Linked DNA regions of Homo sapiens: all the other regions are linked to region 2. Evidence: promoter capture Hi-C in 16 types of primary human blood cells and fetal thymus (Javierre and others, 2016). All regions are on one chromosome and are shown on one strand. The core of a region is centred on a gene start or on the middle of the fragment in contact, and the rest is flanking DNA. Distances in the headings are between cores, read along the strand shown.

What was found. Contacts are between HindIII fragments. The CHiCAGO score rates a contact against its expected background, and 5 or more counts as called.
Region 1: a contact is called between the fragment with the promoter of NDUFB3 here and the fragment with the promoter of TMEM237 in region 2, in 9 of 17 cell types (naive CD8 T cells, fetal thymus, monocytes and 6 more). The highest score is 15.3, in naive CD8 T cells.
Region 3: a contact is called between a fragment that was not itself captured here and the fragment with the promoter of TMEM237 in region 2, in 1 of 17 cell types (fetal thymus). The highest score is 5.2, in fetal thymus.

What each region holds. Positions count from the first base shown.
Region 1 is chr2:201,070,625-201,073,324 of GRCh38, forward strand. NDUFB3 (NADH:ubiquinone oxidoreductase subunit B3) reads left to right here and starts at 1,377. Exons shown (of 3, transcript NM_002491.3): 1 at 1,377-1,435. It overlaps HYCC2 (hyccin PI4KA lipid kinase complex subunit 2), which reads right to left and starts at 1,047. Exons shown (of 13, transcript NM_001321623.1): 1 at 986-1,047. RefSeq lists enhancers at 520-659, 650-1,275, 760-1,029, 1,050-1,139, 1,276-1,899. The HindIII fragment of the contact is 13,158 bases long and covers 1-2,700 here.
Region 2 is chr2:201,642,253-201,644,952 of GRCh38, forward strand. TMEM237 (transmembrane protein 237) reads right to left here and starts at 1,251. Exons shown (of 13, transcript NM_001044385.3): 1 at 1,107-1,251. The coding sequence starts at 1,148. It overlaps MPP4 (MAGUK p55 scaffold protein 4), which reads right to left. Exons shown (of 22, transcript NM_033066.3): 22 at 2,622-2,700. RefSeq lists silencers at 350-539, 1,110-1,369. The HindIII fragment of the contact is 8,699 bases long and covers 1-2,700 here.
Region 3 is chr2:202,235,253-202,237,952 of GRCh38, forward strand. All of the region lies in intron 1 of SUMO1 (small ubiquitin like modifier 1), which reads right to left. Among named protein-coding and RNA genes, the nearest start is that of SUMO1, 2.0 kb to the right of the region's middle. The HindIII fragment of the contact is 685 bases long and covers 951-1,635 here.

The sequences.
Region 1 (2,700 bases), core at 127-2,626, 570 kb before region 2:
CTGGGCAACAACAGCGAAACTCCGTCTCAAAAAAAAAAAAAGTTTATTTTTTTCCCCATATTCAGACCACCACCTTATTTGCACAGTCCCTAACTTCCACAATATCCTGGGGGGAGGAAGGGATCTACCAACTAATTTTCTAGTCATTTTCCAACTTACACTGAGCTCCTACTGTACATTTTTAAAGGATTCCCCACTTTTCTGAAGATCTTTAAAAAATGTTGTCAGCCTTGACCCTCAAATAAATTCACGAACTACAAAACATGAACCTGGCCACATTCATCGCAAACTAGTATCTGTCAAGTCCATAATTGGGATAAGCTCTTCGTGACTACTCTATCCTCCATGCTACCACCCTTCGCCTAGAGAACCTGCCAATGTAAATGGCACTCAAGCCAATGAAAAAAGTGTTCTAACACATTAATAGGTTGCAAGACCTCCTCTCCCAGGAGGGACAACCTAGTTGTTTGGGTAAATAACAGCCAAAGATTACATAATGTACAGCAATAATGAGTGTTCAGAATCTGACCGCCAGTAAATATTTTTCTTCTCCGCTCCCCCTCACCACCCCCAGGAAATGGCCCTAAGAAGCAATCACTGGGATTTCTCTTAACTGTCTTCAATGCCGTGTCCTTTTCTCGCCTGGGGCTTTGTGCAAAGAATCCCTTCAGCCCTCACGACACCGCCTTGCTCCCGCCTCTCCTCCCTCTCTGCTGGCGCCACCGCAGCCCCCACGCCCTAGGTGGGCCCCCACGTCGCCCCACAAGGCTCGGCTTCCACCCGCCTCGGCTGCCGCCTTCTCCTCCTCACGACCCTCCCAAGATGCTACCTGGTTTACGAGAGGTTCCGGGACCACCAACACACCGGCTACCGCCTTTCCAGACCACCCTCGCCAGCTCCCGTCTGTAGTTTCCGCGGCCGAAGGAGAAGAAAACCCCTCTTCATCTAGCACTTTGCCTCCCCCAAAGACAGCACCGCCGCCTACCTGTCACCCTGCTGTCTCCGGCTTCCTACCGCCGCCGCCTCCCGCAGCAGCCTGCCAACTGCAGCGCAACAACCAACCCTCTCATTGGGTGAGAACACGCTCTCAACAACAGCCTCCCTTATTGGCTGCAGTATGCCGGCAGCCCCGCCCTGTGTGCGGTGTCTAAGGATTCCGTCCCCAAGCAAGGACAACATATTATCTTCCCCGCCCTTCTCTTTTCTACAGTATCTGTTACCTCAGTCAGATTGAGGATGCACATATACTGGGAAAATAATCGACTTCCAGCGTCCCTCATGTAGTCTCTACCTGATTCAGGAATCTCTAACCCAGTATCGGAACGTTAAGCGGCTTCTCCGCTTTCCTGCCGTGAGAAACTCGAGGTGACAACCTCCGTTTCCGGTTGGCTCCGGTTGCAGAGTTGAGTGTCCTGAGAGGTCAGATTGCTGTCAGGTAAATTAGGGAGTTGGTGGGAGGCCCGTTGATTAGGATTAAGAGCTAGACTCTATTCTGGGGAGTGCAGAAAAGGAGAGACTAAATGGAGAAGGATGGGAGGCTGGGAGGGAGATCAAAGAACTAGCAGGCGAGAACTAATGAAGTCCTAGTTTAGAGTTGGGGTAGGAAGAGGTGGTTGGAGGATTCAGTGATCATTACTGTAGTTGTTAAATCCAGGTGCTTGTTCCCGCTTCTGCCACACGCAAAATTGTCTTTGTTTGCCTTTGGATCGCAAAGGCAGAAGAACAGCATCACTAAAAGTAATAACAGTTCATTTGTTTTTTATGTTCTAATATTCATATAATCACAGTTTTTAATACGAGGAAGTTAAGATATATACTTGATAGTCTTCGGTAAACTAAAATTGCATGTAGTGGAAGTAGCATTATCTTCTTATTTCTTTCTTAGGGAAAGGATACCAGCACATTTTCTTAGAGCCAGCTTCCTTTAGTGGAGGTTGATCTTCATGAGACTTTTAGATTCACTTCAGACATAGATAGCTTTTAAAATTTTTGGTTGCATGTTTTTTCTTTATTTAACTAATTTCCTTACTGTTATTATTTGAGCTGCTCTGAAACGGAAATAACCACCATTTTTCAGTCCTCAGCACAATTTAAGTCAATTTTTCTATTTTTATTTTTTATTGTCAAGTATATATACAGAAGGGTGTATAAAACATACATTTTAAAAAATTATAACTAACAGAAGCAGACACTCCTGTATCCACCTCTTAGATTAGAAAATAAAGCATTGCCAATAACTTAGAACATGCAGTCTTAACAGGGGTGATTTTACATTTCAAGGGGTTGAAAATTGGTGGGGCCGGGGTCGGAATCTTAGTTACTACAATGATTTGTGTCCCTCCAAAGGGCCACAGTATATAAACAGTTATACAGTATATATGTAGTGTTAAATTTTCATGGCGGGGGGTGTGATTAGGAATAAAATGTCTAGAAAGGTTCCTTACAGGGACAATAGTTAAAAATTGGTTGAAAAACACTGCCTTAGAATCTCCCAGTATGTTTCTGTGATTCCATCTCCTCCACCAAGAGGTAACCATTATCCTGACTTGTGCTAAGCACTCACTTGTTTTACTTTAATTTTTCCGTCTATGATGAATTCCTAAAAAATGAATTGTTAGGCATTTCAATCTATATAAATGGGTTCAGAGTGCATGTGTATTTTTTTCTGACTCACCCCTTGCTCATTATCCATATTTGTGG
Region 2 (2,700 bases), core at 1-2,500:
CAAAAGGGTTAAATTTTAGACACTCTTGTAGTTTGTCCCATTTAGCAATCCATTCGTTCGAACAGTAGATTAATGCAAGTACTACAAGATTAGGACGAGGCAAGCTGCCGTAATACCATCCAGTAGTCAAAATTACAATTGGAGAAGAATGACAGTCACAGGAACGCGCTATTGTTCTAAAGATGCTACGAAGCGCGCGCGATCGATCCCAGGGCTCTGTTCACGTAACTGATTTCAAAAGTCCCGCAAAAATGACGTTCCACCCACCCAGAGACCCAACCTCTAATCCTCAAAAGTAGGACGGCTCAACTGAAGACAAAAATCCTAACAATTAAAAGTAGCTAAGGCTCGCTTACCACAGGATTCTTCCCCATTCTGCGTTTAGCCGGCCTCGGCGGCCGCCGGCCCCCAAGCACCTGGCGCCCCACCCCTCCCGGCTCGGTCGCGCGCGCAGGCGCAATGCGTCATCGGGCCGCGCCGCCTGGCTAGTACCCCGCGCGCAGCGCCCTGCGGGGATGTTGCGGTGAGAGGCGTGCAGGGACCTGGATTGGCCAGTCCAGACTAGCCCTGCCAAAAAGGGGGCCTCGGAGTTGGGGGTAATGTGCCCAGGAGCAGAAATCTGGCGACCGTGGCGCTGCAATCACAGCTTTCCCGTGGTTTCCTAAGTGGTGGCGGTGATTTGTTTGCGGGAAGCGGGGCGTGACGGAAGACCTTAATTAAAGGACTCCGCAGGCGAACAGATCTCTTCTGGGCAGCTACAGACCTCTCCTCGGAGGAGTCTAGGAGAGGCCTGGCTGGAAGCCCCGGCACCCGCCGGGCCCCGGGCCTCAGATGAGTGAGGCGTCGTCGTGGCAACGCGGGCTCAGGTCCCCGCAAACTTCATGCCAGGCCTCTCTCTCCCACTCCGGGAGTTCGGTCCCGGCCTCGCCTGCGTCTCCGTCCCATTCCTGTGAACACTGGAGGGGCGGATGCGCGCACCCCACGAGCAAGGCCCTCCCTTAGTGATTCCCAGCTCGTTGGCGCCCCCCCACACACACCCACCCCCACTGCCAAGTGTAGCTGTTTACCCGCCACCTCTCGAGGCCGACGCGCCCCTCGCCGCTCACCAGGTGGCCCTCCTCCAGCCGAGCCCCCGAGTCAGTCCTCATGGTGCTCTCCCCGCGGGGCTGCCCCGGCGCAACCGCCGGCGGCCCGAGCCCAGCTCCCCGCGACGCAGCGGCCTCCGGGACCTGTGGGACGCCGGGGCTTCGTGGCGCCTGGCGAGGCAGCCGCCCCCTGAGCCAGGTCCCCGCCCGCCTCTGTCCTGCCAGGCGCTGCTGGGTTTGGGAGGAATGCGTTTACTCTCCAGGACCAACGAGTCTGTGCAGGCCTGGGTGTGTGGATGTGTATTAATATAGGCAATTCTCACATTTTCTCCGATTGCTTACCCTTCATCCCACAACTGTGTAAATCAAATTTGGAAAAACTTTTTCTCAACCTTAAAATCAAATCCAACCTCACATAAATATCACTACAAACTACCTGATTTGCATCGTTTGGTTTGGTTGGGTTTGTTTTTTTTTAAAGATAACTTTCACTTTAAGTAACAGAGAACTACAAATATTTTGAATCATGCATTCTGTTTTACAGTTAAGAAAGAAATGGGAAAGATGGAAGAATGGTGTGGATATGGAGAAGAGAATGATGCAGAAGATGAACAGATACAGGGACAGGGAAAGCGCCTGGAAATCTCAAATCTGGGGAAAGAAAGAGAAACAGCACTTTGTAATGGCATCCTAATCTTGTTACCAAACAAACGGGGCTTGTTGCCCTATACGCACAGAAGCCAATATTATGGCGCTGATTTTTTGAGAAAAGTTTTCATTGTGAGTCAGCTAACAAGGAGACAGGAGTATAGCTCTAATCTGTCTCCCTGTGTTGGCTTTAAGACAGTATTTTTATTAGAAAACGTTTAGGGGGTGGATTCTGGGATTAGTAGGTGATTGGTGGAAGGAAAGAAGCCATCTGGAAAATCCTCTGGCGTTCGCAGTTACCTCTTCATGTCCCTTCATGGGTCGCATGTGCAAATTTTGGAGGGAGTCAGTGTGAAACATGGGGAAAGATTCAAGCTGTGACGCCAGCAAGCTCATTTTGTACAGACTCCAGGTAGCCATCCGTGTTAGTACTAACCACTTTCAGCCAGTTTGCTTTGTTTTGTTTTGTTTTGTTTTTTAATCTCACAATGGAAGAAGTTTAGGCGTTTTATTTAGCAAGTTGTTTTTTATCTGCCGTCCTGCATGCTCAAGAATTTCTGTTAGTCCCTGGTTTCTTTAACTCTGAGACACGGTTTCACTCTTGTGATTTTCTATATATAGGTCTCTGGGATTAATCCATTGCCTTTTTCTAATTTAGGCCTGCATGTAGATATTGGCTGTTAAGGAAAATTAGTGTTTGTCACACCTCTCATGAGAATAATTTTTTCCTTGTAGGCCGATTTGTAAATAGTGAAGGCAGTGCAGTTTCTTGTAGGTTTTGATTTTAGATGTGAAATGTGTACATTAAACCTTTCTTGCTGAGTTAGTCAAGTAAGCACTTTTTGTAAAAGATGTTTTCATAAAACACGTTTCATAGAGTACAGTTTCTAAAGTTAACTATTGCTTATTTTATTTAGGAAAGCTCTTTATTTAAATCTTAAAAAGATCATGTGAAATCTGCGAAAGG
Region 3 (2,700 bases), core at 43-2,542, 590 kb after region 2:
ATTTTAACCTTGTTATTACTCAATTTCACTATTTTAACACCAGACAATAACCTTCTGAGAGCTGCCTCAGAAAACACATCACTCTAAAATAACTTGATTCAAATTAAGGTTGTCTTCTTAGGACAGTGGTTTAGTCTCATGCTGATATTAAACAGTACAGGATTTGGAGATTCTTGTTCTCACTTATAAACCTCTTAAGATTAAGGGTTCAGCTTTATAACTCTTTTAAGTCTTTAGCACTCAACACTGAACTTGTACTGGGTCTTCTTTGTTTTGAGTCAGGGTCTCTATCGCCCAGGCTGAAGTACAGTGGCATGATCTTGGCTTGCTGCAACCTCGACCTCGCAGGCTCAGGTGATCCTCCCATATCAACCTCCTGAGTAGCTGGGACTACAGGTACAGGCCATCATGCCTGGCTAATTTTATTTTTTGTAGAGACGACGTCTCTCTATATTGCCCAGGCTGGTCTCAAACTGGGCTCAAGCAATCCTCCCCCACTTAGGCCTCCCAAAGTGCCAGGATTACAGGTGTGAGGCGCTGCACCCGGCCAATGTACTGAGTCTTTTTTTTTTTTTTAAACGGAGTCTCACTCTGTCGCCCAGGCTGGAGTGCAGTGGAGTGATCTCCAGTTACTGCAACCTCCGCCTCCCGGGTTTAAGCAGTTCTCCTGCCTCAGCCTTCTGAGTAGCTGGGATTACAGGTGCGCACCACCACGCCTGGCTATTTTTTGTATTTTTAGTAGAGACGGGGTTTCACCATGTTAGTCAGGCTGGTCTAGAACTCCTGACCTCGTGATCCACCCAACTTGACCTCCCAAAGTGCTGGGATTACAGGCTTAAGCCACTGCACCCGGCGAGTCCTAATGATGTTGGTCAATCAGCCTACAGCAACAGTTCTCAAACTTTTTGTTCTCAGGAATCTTACACTTAAATTTATTTAGAATCCCATAAAGCTTTTGTTAGGTTGGTTACATCTATTGATGTTTACAGTATTAAACACTGAAAACTGAGAAATGTCTTAAATATTAATTCATTTTAAAATACCAACAAACCTGTTATATGTTAACAAATATATATTTTTATTAAAAATATTTTTCAAAACAAAATTAATGAAAGAGTGGGACTGTTACACATTTTTGCAAATCTCTTTAATGTCTGGCTTAATAAAAACAGCTAAACAGCTGGATTTTCACATCTGCTTCCACATTTAATTTGTTTTATCACAAGTCATGTTAGTTTCTAGAAACGTCCATTGAACACTCATGAAAGAATGACAGTGAAAAAGACAAATAATGTCCTAGTATGAACATGAAATAAAAGAATCTATTTGTATCCTAGGTCCTTCATTTCTTTATGTATCTCTTAAATAACCTGACTTCAAAATGGAGCAATAAATTCTACATTTTATAATTATTTCTTTATGTTGCTCTTCCATCAGTCTACAATAAATTTCAAAATGCTTCCTAGACGCTTCTGGGAAACAAAATAAAAGGCTGACGAAACTAAGCATTTACGCCTATACTTTTCTTCCTAGTAACCAAGTAAACAACTACCTAGGGAAACACAATGCCCACTTGGGAATTAATCTAGATTATTAGTAAGTAGATCCATCCAAAATTCATCTAGATTATGGTTAAGCTTTAAAATGTTAAGTGTACATTTTGTACAATAGTACCAATCTGCAAAAACCTCACTTGCTCTCACGAAATGGTACAAAACTGGGTTAAAAGCCAAGGGAATAGGTGTGTTAAATTTAAAAGTTCAAGTACATCGTGGAGTTGAATGAAAAATAGTTTTCTGAATAACTACCATTAAATGAGTAAAAGTCCAAAAATAATGTAAAAAGTCAAAGTCGGCTGGGCGCGGTGGCTCACGCCCGTAATCCCAGCACTTTGGGAGGCCGAGGTGGGCGGATCACGAGGTAAGGAGATCGAGACCAGCCTGGCCAATATGGTGAAACCCCGTCTCTACTAAAAATACAAAAATTAGCTAGGTGTGGTGGTGAGTGCCTGGTGGTGAGTGCCTGTAATCCCAGCTACTCGGGAGGCTGAGGCCCGAAAATTGCTTGAACCCAGGAGGCGGGAGGGTGCAGTGAGTGGAGATCGCACCACTGCACTCCAGCCTGGCGACACAGCGAGACTCCGTCTCAAAAAAAAAAAAAAGTCAAAGTCGTCTGAGCAAACAAAAGACCAGACAAAAACTTTATGAATTAAAAACTAGCCATAAAGTTGTTTAATTAGAACAGGATGAGGAAGAAAAGGGGAAATCGATCACTCCTGATTAAGTGCAAATCCCAAGTAAATTATTGATACTAACAGTGAGCTGGAGCACTTTGCCTTACCAGGCAACTTTCTGCAAATATTCTGCAACGACTCTACATACACAAAGTTTTCCTATGCTTTTCCTCAAAAATATGAGACTTCCTCAGGTTAATGCCCAGGTGAGATGCTTTTTGTTGCTCTAGCAGTTTAGTTCTATTTTCTTTCTTGGTTATTATGAATGCTCTCTTACAACTGGAGAGCTAGGATGAACCAATCCCGAGTAAGAAACGGGAAAGTACAGTAAAGAGGCGACAGCTCTGCACCCCCACACGGAAAAAGACTCAGAGGAGAGCAGCGGCATCCTTGCCCTAGCTCCAATCCGAACGGAGGCAGGATTCCCAACAACATCGGACGTCTCCCTCCCTCGCCGCCCCACGCCC